Linked DNA regions of Homo sapiens: regions 1 and 2 are each linked to region 3. Evidence: promoter capture Hi-C in 16 types of primary human blood cells and fetal thymus (Javierre and others, 2016). All regions are on one chromosome and are shown on one strand. The core of a region is centred on a gene start or on the middle of the fragment in contact, and the rest is flanking DNA. Distances in the headings are between cores, read along the strand shown.

Region 1 (4,059 bases), core at 1-2,500, 600 kb before region 3:
TATTTTTAGTAGAGGTGGGGTGTCACTATGTTGACTAGGCTGGTCTTGAACTCCTGACCTCAGGTGATCCGCCTGCCTTGGCCTCCCAAAGTGTTGGGATTACAGGCGTGAGCCACTGCACCCAGCCTAAGGCTTAAGTCTTTCCGATGGCTCTTCAGAGGTAAATGGAGCTTACACATAATCTTTCAATTAGGGGTCAGATTCACTAATGAGTGGTGAAATAATTTTCGTGGTTTTTGATCAGCATTTATTAAAATAGAGAACAGAAAGATTAAGTAAAAATAAAGAATAGAACATACCAGCACACCTATGACAAGGGTAAGTATCGTTTCATAAAGCTTGTGTTTCAGTTTTGCATGTGCATGTAATCGTGTTTGTGTGTGTACTGGGTACCAATGTAAAATGTATTCGTGCTATGAATCTGGGTGAAAAACGTTTAAGTCATTAGTCCAGGCTATTCCTCCATCCATTTGTTAGGTGACATACAGCATAGTACAGCGGAGCCAGAATACCTACTGCACGTCAGTTCTTCAATCTTTTTTTTTAATTGATTTATTTATTTTTGAGACAGAGTTTCGATCTTTTTACCCAGGCTAGAGTGCAGTGGCGCGATCTCGGCTCACTGGAAACTCCGCCTCCCAGGTTCAAGATTCTCCTGTCTTAGCCTCCTGAGTACCTGGGATTACAGGCGCCCACCACCAGGCCGGGCTAAATTCTTCAATCTTTAAAGTGAGGATAATAATAGTAGCTACCTATAGGCTTGCTCAAAGTTAAATGAGTTAATATTTATAAAGACGCTTACCACAGGGCCAGGCACTGTGCCAGAGATAAAAAGATGAATGAGAAATAGCCCCAGCCTCAATGCACTTCATTGTGGGATTTTCTCCATATTGGAAGGAGGGATTCACAAAATGCTTGTTTCCTCTCAGGCCTTCCTCTTCGTAATCCTACACCTACCTAGTAGAAGGACTGTCAGAGAAATGAGCCCAGGGCGTCCCCCGGTGGCGCAGCGCCGCCTTCGGTCTAAGCACTTGGGGCAGGGGGGAAGGGGGGGAGGGGGGAGCCTCTTGGCTTCGCACTACAATTCCCACCAAGCATCTGTCCCTCTCTGGCCTCTAATAACGAGTGCGCCTTGTGGTCCAGCGTCTGGCAACTTTCACGCCTAGCGTCGCGTATACCGGAAAACTGCATCGTCCAGAATTGCTTCCGAGTCGGCGCGGCGCAAGGCTTGCTGGGAGACACATAACCTCGATTTTCTTCCGCCATCCGGCTAAATAGTCCCATGTGCACTTTGTTCCATGGATAAATAAACACTAGGAACGCATTTCCACCCTAGATTTCAGCAGAAATGCTGAATGTAAAGGAATATTTGAGTAAAGTGAGTTGCCGTTCTTGAAGCCCGTCTCCTAAGGATTCTCCCGGTGTCCGCGTAGGGATCTCATGCTATATAGGAGGGCCCTGCCAGGCACCGTCTCCTCTCTCCGGTCCGTGCCTCCAAGATGGTGAGTCTTCTTGCGTGGTGAGGGTGGGGGTTCGGGTGCAGACTCTGGGATTGTGGGGAAGTGAGAGCCTGGAGCACGGCTGAGGGGTGGACCGAGTGTACATTTCATTTGCTCTGGGGGTCGGCGGGATTTGCGGAGAAACAGGAGATCCGAGCGGCGCCTTCCTGGAGGCTGCCGGTGCGGCTTGTGGCCGGAAAGGGACTGAGGCTGGGTGAGTTGCGCCGTTTTCCTAACAGTTTTCCCATCCTGTCGCAGACAAAGAAAAGAAGGAACAATGGTCGTGCCAAAAAGGGCCGCGGCCACGTGCAGCCTATTCGCTGCACTAACTGTGCCCGATGCGTGCCCAAGGACAAGGCCATTAAGAAATTCGTCATTCGAAACATAGTGGAGGCCGCAGCAGTCAGGGACATTTCTGAAGCGAGCGTCTTCGATGGTAAGTGGGTCACCGGCGCGAACTGTGTGAGGATCCCAGTATCTTAAAGCCTTCGCCCAACTTCGCCCTTTTGGAGGCTCTGTTCTTTGGAGCCTCTCAGGCAATTTCCACGTATTTAAGGTTGTTACTGGTAGAAGAGAATTCTCTTGTTTGCCGTTTTGATTCTTTTCTGGGCAGAGGGTGACTTTGTGATAGAGTGCACAGCCTTTACTCTGAGGTAAAGGTTTGCCTGTTTCGGTTATGAGATTGCAAAAACTAGAAACTTGGTAAATTTGACAATTCTTGTGCTATTGATTATTTGAATATTTGTGAAAATATACAGGTGAGGAAGAATGTCTTCAACGTTTCGAGAATGGAGGCCGTCTAGTTTGGTGTGCAAGGATGATGTTTGGAGCAATAAGAACGTCGCTTTGTTTTTTTCCTTTTATAGAAAGAGCAAGGTTCAGGGTAGGCATTAGGGCGGGTGTAGGTGTAGAAGGAACTGGATTATTGGTTTATTGCATTTAGAATGTCAGTCTGGTCCTTGCGGTGTCAAGATGAACTCACGTGGGATGTTAATTCACTTGTAAAACTGAGGGTTATACATATGTGCTCAGGTATTGGGCTGAACAGGTGCTTTGGGGGTGCTTTTATGTGCCCGACAGGCATTTAAATAGGTTTAGTTTTAATTGACGTAAACATGTAAGGTGCTCTTCATTCATGTAACAAAAAAGCAAGGTAGGTATATAATACCAGTATAACTCTATTTTCTATTCCTTAGCCTATGTGCTTCCCAAGCTGTATGTGAAGCTACATTACTGTGTGAGTTGTGCAATTCACAGCAAAGTAGTCAGGAATCGATCTCGTGAAGCCCGCAAGGACCGAACACCCCCACCCCGATTTAGACCTGCGGTGAGTATTTTAAAAGGAGAATGGAAGCCAGGGGAGTGATGGTTAAAATTTCATCCTGGAGGGTCAGGGTGTCCTATACCTGTAACCTCAACACTTTGGGAGGCTGGGACAAGAAGATTGCTAGAAACCAGCAGTTCAAGACCCCATCTCTTCAAAAAATATTGAGAAGGAAGCCAAGCATGATAGTGTGAACCTATAGTCTGGCTGCTCGAGAGGCTGAGGCAGGAGGATCACTTGAGCCCAGGAGTTTGAGGTTGCAGTGAGCTATGATTATACCACTTGCGCTCCAGCCAGGGCAAAAGTGAGACCTTGTCTCTTAAAAAAAAAAAAAAGTTGCTTCCTCCTGTGGTGCAGGGGGTATCAAATTAAGGTCTGTGCCTCAGGTTAAGCTGTAAGGCAGGTGAGACCCACACCTGAACATGCTTAGAGACACTGCAAAGCAGTGTTAGAATCAGAATTGGTTTTTAGGATGCAGAGTAGTGTTCTCCCTCCACCTCTATCAGCTTCCCATGCATTTGTAGCCTGAATACATCAGTTTGTGAGAGGATGGTGGTCAAGTTCTTTGGGGGAAGGGAGTCTTGGATCCATGGGTTTTAATTTACTCTTTTGTTTCTTTGTCTTTCAGGGTGCTGCCCCACGTCCCCCACCAAAGCCCATGTAAGGAGCTGAGTTCTTAAAGACTGAAGACAGGCTATTCTCTGGAGAAAAATAAAATGGAAATTGTACTTAATATTGCATGTTAAGTGTATCTGTGCCAGATAAGGTGGGGATTTTGTGTGTTAGACCAAGTGTGAAGTGACACACATTATTTTCATGGGGAAGAAAGCTTATTCATGTAATTTAATTTTTTTCTTTTTTTTTTTTTTTTTTTTGAGACGGAGTCTTTGTCGCCCAAGCTGAATTGCAGTGGCGTGATCTCAGCTCACTGCAACCTCCGTCTCCCGGGTTCAAGTGATTCTCCTGCCTCAGCTTCTTGAGTAGCTGGGATTACAGGTGTCTGCCACCATGCCTGGTTAATTTTTGTATTTTTGGTAGAGATGGGGTTTCACTATGTTGTCCAGGCTGGTCTTGAACTTCTGACCTCAGTTAATCCACCAGCCTTGGCCTCCCAAAGTGCTGGGATTACAGGCTTGAGCCACCTCGCCTAGCTATTTATGTAAATTAAACTTTAATTGTGGTCGTATGGTTGGCCTCACAATTCGCATAGCTGTGTGAAATGGAGATTAGGCATCT
Region 2 (3,691 bases), core at 803-3,302, 670 kb before region 3:
CCCTTTCCTTTCCTTTTGATACAGGGTTTTGCTCTCTCACCCTGCGTGCAGTGGCACGTTCATCACTCACTGCAGCCTCAAACTCCTAGGCTGAAGCCATCTTCCTCATTAGCCTCCCAAGTGGCTAGGACCACAGGTGCTCACCACCAAGCCTGGCTAATTTTTTTTTTTTTTTTTTTTGAGACAGAGTTTCGCTCTTGTTGCCCAGGCTGGAAGGCTGGAGTACAATGGCACGATCTCAGCTTACTACAACCTCCGCCTCCCGGGTTCAAGCGATTCTCCTGCCTCAGCCTCCTGAGTGGCTGGGATTACAGGCATGCACCACCACGCCCAGCTAATTTTGTATTTTTAGTAGAGACTGGGTTTCTCTATGTTGGTCAGGCTGGTCTCAAACTCCCAACTTCAGCTGATCCACCTGCCTTGGTCTCGCAAAGTGCTGGGATTACAGGCGTGAGCCACCAAGCCTGGCCTAGGCCTGGCTAATTTTTTTACGTTTCGTAGAGACAAGGTCTCACTATGTTGCTCAGGCTGGTCTTGAACTCCTGGGCTCAAGCAATCCTATGACCACGGCCTCCCAAAGTGCTGGGATTACAGGTGTGAGCCACTACACCCGGCCTCCTTATCTCTTTTCTTTTCTTTTCTTTTTTTATTTTTTTGAGACAGAGTCTTGCTGTTGCCCAGGCTGGAATGCAATGGTGTGATCTCGGCTCACTGCAACCTCTGCCTCCCAGGTTCAAGCGATTCTCATGCCTCGGCCTCCCAAGTAGTTGGGATTACAGGTGCGTACCACCATGCCCAGCTAATTTTTGTATTTTTAGTAGAGATGGAGTTTCACCATATTGGCCAGGCTGGTCTGACCTCAAGTGATCCACCCGTCTCAGCCTCTCAAAGTGCTAGGATTACAGGCATGAGTTACTGTGCCGGGCCTCATCCCCTTTCTTTTTTTTTTTTTTTTTGAGACGGAGACTCGCTCTGTCACCCAGGCTGGAGTGCATTGGTGTGATCTTGGCTCACTGCAACCTCTGCCTTCTGGGTTCAAGTGATTCTCCAGCCTCAGCCTTCTGAGTAGCTGGGACTACAGGCATGTGCCACCATGCCCAGCTAATTTTTGTACTTTTAGTAGAGACGGGGGTTTCACCATATTGGCCAGGCTGGTCTCGAACTCCTGACCTCGTGATCCACCTGCTTCAGCCTCCCAAAGTGCTGGGATTACAGGCGTGAGCCACGGCGCCCGGCCTCATTCCCTTTCTAATGTGTGCTGTAACCCTAGTTGATTCTGCTGGGGGAGGATCTGGAATCATCTATTGAGCATCCCACCACTAGAACAAGAGAAGTCATAAGATACCCCATTCTTTCTCCACTTCCAACTCTCCTCAGAGCAGCACGGGACATTCCAGACCCTCTCACCACCCCACCCCCGCCCCTTGCTCCTGTCACGAGGCCCAATCCCCCAGAGCCCTTTCATGTGATGCTCAGCTGAGACCCCTCTGCCTATCTCTCCAGCCCCAGAACAAAAGGTCTGGGCTGTGTTCACCCGTACCCATCCCAAGAGGAGAGGATTGTATCTCCTTAGTGTTCTTACCCAATACCACATTCTCTGACTCCCCACTTTAAATCTCCTACCCCAAGAGACGTTTCCTAAAAGAGTCTCCTGCACATTTCACCCCTTTGGAGCCCGTGCTCCAGCTCACTGCCAAGGAAGCCTCAGAATCAGTGCCACAGAGACCTTCTATCCTTCTGCCCCTCCAAGCATATGAGATTATTTTCAGGCAAAATCCCAAATCTCCATGTAGGGAGGGAGCCCAGGTGCCCACATCCTCACTAAATCAAATGAGTGGGAGACGCCTGAAATATTGCCGCTATCTCCCATTAGGAGGACAGAAACCAGAGCAGGGGGAATTCATCCCCAAGTTCACACCTGCTCATGTCCACATATCCACACATACCTTTTGTAGCCCCCACAGCCAGCAAAGCACCTATCACAGCCAAATGAAGAAGGCATCTTTTTAGCACCAGATCCATTGTGTTCTTCCCTCCAGCAACCAAAGGCACTGGGGGGACTGGGATAGGCCCCTATATAAGAAAAGGGTGCTCATTTGCATAGCCCTTCCTCTTCTCCCTCAGAGAAGGCCTGGGAGGGGCCGGAGGAGAGGAAAAAGGAAAAACTGACAAAGGGATCCTGGTCCCTAGACATTGCTTTCCCATCCTGCTACTCAATGACAGTTTCTGGTTTCACTGGGTCACTCTCATCTTGATGCACTCCCGGGCAAGAGCTAACTGAAAGGCAGCTGCGTAACACATACCAGACACAACAGTTTATCATGGGAGAGTGAATTAAACCAGGAACTTCTCAAAAAGACAGAAACAGAACCCTGCATCCCAAAACAGAGACAGTGTCGGGGTATGCTATGAGGCAGAGGCAACGACTCCTCTGAGGCCCAGGATTCCTTTGCAACGAGATTCCCGGCTTCCTGGTTTCCAAAGGAGGCTCCTGGGCCAGGTGGAATTTAACCTTAGGTCGATACATATTTTCCCCAGGATTGGTGAAAATAGTGAGTTAGAAATCAAGAAATCCCTACAGACTAGAGACATAGGTAGGAAACTTGGACCCAAAGCAGGTACTTGGGAAGAGTGTTCAGCCGCCCCACCGGGGAAGAAACTTGTCTAGCCCCCAAGAACCAAACTTGCCTGGGGCGGGATCATTTGCGGGGAGGAGCGCTGGGCTCGCCCCCCGGCTCTGACGTTGACCAATAGAAAGGCCTGGGGGCGGAGCCAGGGAAACGCGGGAAGCAGGGGCGGGGCCTCTGGTGGCGGTCGGGAACTCGGTGGGAGGCGGCAACATTGTTTCAAGTTGGCCAAATTGACAAGAGCGAGAGGTATACTGCGTTCCATCCCGACCCGGGGCCACGGTACTGGGCCCTGTTTCCCCCTCCTCGGCCCCCGAGAGCCAGGGTCCGCCTTCTGCAGGGTTCCCAGGCCCCCGCTCCAGGGCCGGGCTGACCCGACTCGCTGGCGCTTCATGGAGAACTTCCAAAAGGTGGAAAAGATCGGAGAGGGCACGTACGGAGTTGTGTACAAAGCCAGAAACAAGTTGACGGGAGAGGTGGTGGCGCTTAAGAAAATCCGCCTGGACACGTGAGTGGCCTCTGTACCCGGGACTCCTAACTGGGGACCTCCTTGATTGTCCCCCCCAACCCCCCACGGGCGGGTAGCCGTCCAGGGACCGGAAGAGAGCAGGGAGGGACTTCTTTAGAAGTGGAGAGGTGGGTTGGGGGCCAGTAGAAGGTGAAGAGTATACTTATACTCCCTGGGGAGAGTATAGGGTGGTGTGGAATCCATGGAAAACTTTCTTCCCAAACTGAGCCGGATCGTGCCCCCAAATGTGCGACTACAGACTCGGGGAGAGAAAGGAGGTCTCTGAGATGAGGTCCAAGACTCTCCATGGAGTGGAGTTATGTGGGAACCGGCGAGAATCGCCTTTCTGAATGAAGAGCCCTCTTCACTGCCCCACCCTCACCTTAGAATTCTCTCCTCTTTCCAAAGAATGGCAGTTGAACCTCACTGGCCCCTCTGGGGAGGCTGGGGGCTACTCCTGCATTTTTTCCCCTCCATTACAGTCTCCCTGCTTCACCTTCACCAGGCGGCTTTACTTACCTACCCCTGGGAAAAGAGGAGATAATGGCCTTAATAT
Region 3 (4,232 bases), core at 1,683-4,182:
ATTTTTCTGGCGAAGAAGGCGCGGGGGAGGGGGAGATCCTGGGCCCAGAATAGGAAAGGTACTCGGGAGACGATGGCGGAGAGGCGTGAGAAGCCTCCGGATTCCGGTCGCGGAGGACAGGGGGAAAATGGGCGAGTAGATAGTTCAGGGGAGAGAGGAAGGGCAGCTCCCTCAGGGGGAGAGTCAGATCCCGAATCCCGGGGCAGCAGGGATCCCGGGGCAGGATACCGCAGGAACGGCCCGCCAAGGGACTCCGGAGCTGGAGGTGGGTGCCGGGCCTCACCTGGAGCAGGGCCGGGCCGCAGGCGGCGGCGGCGGCGGCAGAGGCGCAGGTGGCCGAGCCGGGCGGCGGCTGCGCCTCCTCCCCCAGCCCTGGGCCGGCGGCGGCGGAGGGGAGGAGGTGGTGCTTAAAGGGGCAGGAACTACCGAGGTGAGGACAACCGCTCAGGAGAGCAGTCGCGAAGGATCCACTGGGGGAGAGGATAGCGGGTGGCGTCTCCTAGGGGCCAGAACCAGGAAGGATCCCAGATGGGAGGAAGAGAACGGATCCCAGAAAGAGACAGAAACTTCTGCGGTGAAGTGGGGGATGGTGGTAGGTCCGAAAGGAAGGACTTGGGAGAGCTCTGCCCGCGCTCCCAGGGCACCAGCAAAGACCGCTTCACAAAAGAGGCCGGGGAAGGCAGAAAGAGCTACATGGGCTCCTAGGAGGCCTAGGGGTGCAGGAGAGGGAACTCAAGGCCGAGCCTGCTGGGGGTCACGCGCAGCGCCCTACTAGGTGAACTGGTTCCCCGTGTTTCAGCTCCTCAGGGCTCCATCCCTACGGCTGTGGGGCCTTTGGAATCAGGAAGCCACGAAGGCAAAAACCTCCTATCCTCTCAACCTCAATCCTGCGTCCCACTCAGTGCCCTCAGTGACTGTAGTGTGGGGGCCATCAATAGCAGCCCTGGTGAGGCTGATGTGGGACCATGAGAATCGACTTTGGTTCAGTTTTCCCCCAACCACCACCACCCTTGCTTCAGTCTCTGGGGCAACAGGAAGCAGCTGCTCAGTGCAGCCCCCACCTGAAGGTGGGTCAAGGTGGGGGAGGAGAGAAGACAGACTTAAAAGGCCTTAGAAAAATGAGAGGGAGGGGAGGCATTTTAAAGACCTTCCAGCACTGCCAAAAGCCGGCTTTACTTTTGTGGGGGCTAGCAGTGAGTACTGTCAAAATTTCCTTGAATCTCAACAGCTTAAATGGGGAGGAGCAGGGGCAATCCTCCACGGGGCGGCGGGGAGGGGGCTGGGAAAGCCCTGGCCTAAGATGCGTCTCAGGCTCTTCCTTAGAACTGGGGCTTGCCCATACTCAGGATCCCGTGGTCGGCAGCCTCGCTAGCTGAGCCCTGTGCCCCCCGTCCCCCAGAGTCCTGTTTCCTCTCCTTCAGCCCCCAAATGAGCAAAGGTTAGGCCCCACCCCTGCTGAGTCAGCCAGGGAGGGAGTAGGCATCCCTCAGGCCTTCCCCGGGGCTGGTCCCCATACTCACCCATGTCAGGCTGGCACAGCTCCAGGCTGGGACCACCCAGCTCCTCACTGTCCTTGGGCCTCCACTTCACGTAAAGGTTGGTGTTGGATCCTCCCAAACTGTGAGCTGGGAACTAGCAAGAATCAAAAAGCCAGTGTATGCTTCCTGCGAACCACACAGCCTGAACTGCTGTAGGGTGATGTCCCTGTGTGACAGACTGGGGTGGGGAGGGAGGAGGGAAGGGCGGGGCTTTCTCTGGGTGGAGAGAGGGAGGAGGCGAGGACAGGGCAGACCAGGAGAAATATGGAGGAAGGTTAGAGAGCTGTGTTGACACTCCAGTGGCATGGTAGAAGAGGCCGGCAAAGGGGGAAGGAAACAAATAGTTGCAGCTACTGAGAGGGAGAAGGTTCTCGATAAACGCTGAAGGACGTGAACATGTTGGGGGAAGGGGTGGAGGGATGCAAAAGACCTTTAGGATTTCAGTTCCCAGGTCTGTATCGGGTGACGTGAGAAAACAAAGCAGAAAGGGCTGACCTGTACCCTAGGGCTTTTTCTACCAGCTTCTTACCCACTCCAGAGTCAGGACCTAGAGGAAGTGTCCACACCCCCATAACTCAGCATTTCCCCAAATCCCAGCTTTTCTGGGAGCAAACTACCAGCACAAGCAGCTCAGGGGCTCCACCTTCTGTCCAGATCATGACACAGGAGAGACTGCGGGAGAGGCTGCTGCCAAGGACGTCACAGGCAGATGGAAGGAAGCTTAGAGGCCCCTACTCCACCCCTGGCCCCGCGCCAAAAAGCCCTCCCCAACCTTCAGCCCCCAGGGGCCTCTGAATTGGAGCTCAGCTTGTCCCCGCCCAGCTTCTACCTAACTTGATGGACTCAGCGGGTGGAGCTTATAGATACAGGCTCCTCCCCAGGACAAAAGCCCCAGCTGGTCTGTAAACAGTCTTTAACTGAGAGCCACATCCCAGCAAATGGCCTTCATGGATTTGAAAATGGGATCAGAGTTCTTGCAGAGTCTCCAGTGCTACCGCGAGAGGGCAGTCGGATGGGTCTGGTCCCGGAAAAGAACACAAGAGGAACCCAATCTGACCTTGCACGCTTCTTTTAAATTGAAATGGTAAAATATATCTTCTACCCCTGCACCTCTCAGTCGGCTAAAATGAAGGGAAAATAACCTAACTTCATTAGTTTAGAAGCCCAAGCCAGCAACTCTGAAAATTGCTATTCCCTTGTAAGATTATCTTTTCTGGACTTTCATAAGGGGATCTTCACAGAGGGTGGACTAGGCCTTATGGTATTATATGCCTCTGCATAGCCTCAAGGAATCACAAGCAACTTTTATTTAGGCTTGCCCAAAATGTCAGGAAGTAGTTAAGTACACTTTCTGAAGACATGAAGGCCTAACCAAGATGTAGAGAACCCTTTTGATTCCATTTTAACAAAGATCAGTATTCTTCATCACTATTTCTTGAAAATTTAATTCATTAAACTCAGATTAACCCCTGGAAATAAGTTATTTCTAAAACGAGTTTTTCCCAATATGCCCTTCAAAAAAGTCCTATTTTTAACCAAGAAGTAGGGATGTGCCACATGGAATAGAGGCCAAAAAAAAAAAAAAATCAATTTGTATTGAACAAAAGGCCCAAAACTGAGGCCCTACTAAGATCACACTACCCACAGGAAACCCCTCACAAGAGGTACGGTTGTCCATCAACAAAAGAGAATGGCTATTTTTAAGGACCAATTTCAAACATACATGGCCCACTTCATGCTGAAACTGCTTCTTATAGCCACTCTAAAAATCTAATTGTTGAAAACAGTGCTGGTGATGTGAGACTACATACACCTGTAGCCCCAGCTACTCAGGAGACTGAGGTGGGAGATCTCGAGCCCAGGAGTTAGAGACCAGTCTTGGCAACACAGCCAGACACCGTGTCTCTAAAACTAAAATTAAATACATAACCCTTCAGTGTTGACTATGTTGTCAGAACCAAGAGAATCAGACAAATTCTGAGGGGTGTACATTTTATTGGAAACCTTAAATACTGTTCAGAAAGAATATATCTTCAATCAAGGCTCTTGTGCAGCCTACACAGAAAAATGAAGCTTTTTGGGTTAGGGGCAAGGAGAGAGACAGTACAGAGGACAAAGACCCCTCACGATGAATGCTCTTCAGCCAGCTTATCAGCTTTTGCCACAGCTTCTTCAATGGGTCCCACCATATAGAAGGCCTGTTCTGGGAGATGGTCATATTCACCTGTATGATGGGGGAGAAAAAAAAAAAGAGTAAGAAGCGGAGGGATATCAACTTTCTGCATCATGTAACATTCCTCACCACTTCAGGCCATCAGTTAGAATGTGATGAATTCATGTCATCTTAGAAAGCTTAAATTTCCCTCACAAATCAAATTTACAAGATATGATACAGTATGAATTAAGAACACATGGGCCAGGCACGGTGGCTTACACCTGTAATCCCAGCACTTTGGGAGGCCAAGGCAGGCGGATCACCTAAGGTCAGGAGTTCGAGACAAGCCCAGCCAACATGGTGAAACCCCATGGCTACTAAAAATACAAAAATTAGCCAGGCGTGGTGGCGTGTGCCTGTAATCCCAGCTACTTGGATGGTTGAGGCTGGAGAATCACTTGAACCCGGCAGGTGGAGGTTGCAGTGAGCCAAGATTGCACCAGTGTACTCCAGCCTGGGCGACAGAGACTCAGTCTCAA

What was found. Contacts are between HindIII fragments. The CHiCAGO score rates a contact against its expected background, and 5 or more counts as called.
Region 1: the fragment with the promoter of RPS26 here is called in contact with a fragment that was not itself captured in region 3 in 1 of 17 cell types (fetal thymus); the score reaches 5.3 in fetal thymus.
Region 2: a contact is called between the fragment with the promoter of PMEL here and a fragment that was not itself captured in region 3, in 3 of 17 cell types (fetal thymus, naive B cells and naive CD8 T cells). The highest score is 6.2, in fetal thymus.

The regions. Positions count from the first base shown.
Region 1 is chr12:56,040,668-56,044,726 of GRCh38, forward strand. It overlaps RPS26 (ribosomal protein S26), which reads left to right and starts at 1,251. Exons shown (of 4, transcript NM_001029.5): 1 at 1,251-1,502; 2 at 1,758-1,935; 3 at 2,696-2,826; 4 at 3,452-4,030. The coding sequence starts at 1,500. The coding sequence ends at 3,487. RefSeq lists enhancers at 972-1,761, 1,210-1,539, 1,680-1,939 and a silencer at 1,000-1,059. The HindIII fragment of the contact is 3,314 bases long and covers 337-3,650 here.
Region 2 is chr12:55,963,990-55,967,680 of GRCh38, forward strand. PMEL (premelanosome protein) reads right to left here and starts at 2,053. Exons shown (of 11, transcript NM_001384361.1): 1 at 1,947-2,053. The coding sequence starts at 2,022. CDK2 (cyclin dependent kinase 2) reads left to right here and starts at 2,841. Exons shown (of 7, transcript NM_001798.5): 1 at 2,841-3,135. The coding sequence starts at 3,020. RefSeq lists an enhancer at 2,532-2,611. The HindIII fragment of the contact is 16,386 bases long and covers 1-3,691 here.
Region 3 is chr12:56,634,662-56,638,893 of GRCh38, forward strand. ATP5F1B (ATP synthase F1 subunit beta) reads right to left here. Exons shown (of 10, transcript NM_001686.4): 10 at 3,514-3,762. The coding sequence ends at 3,662. It also overlaps a transcript of BAZ2A not described here. Among named protein-coding and RNA genes, the nearest start is that of BAZ2A, 6.5 kb to the left of the region's middle. RefSeq lists a silencer at 197-426 and enhancers at 477-796, 681-1,193, 2,077-2,246, 2,220-2,731, 2,224-2,518. The HindIII fragment of the contact is 1,353 bases long and covers 2,257-3,609 here.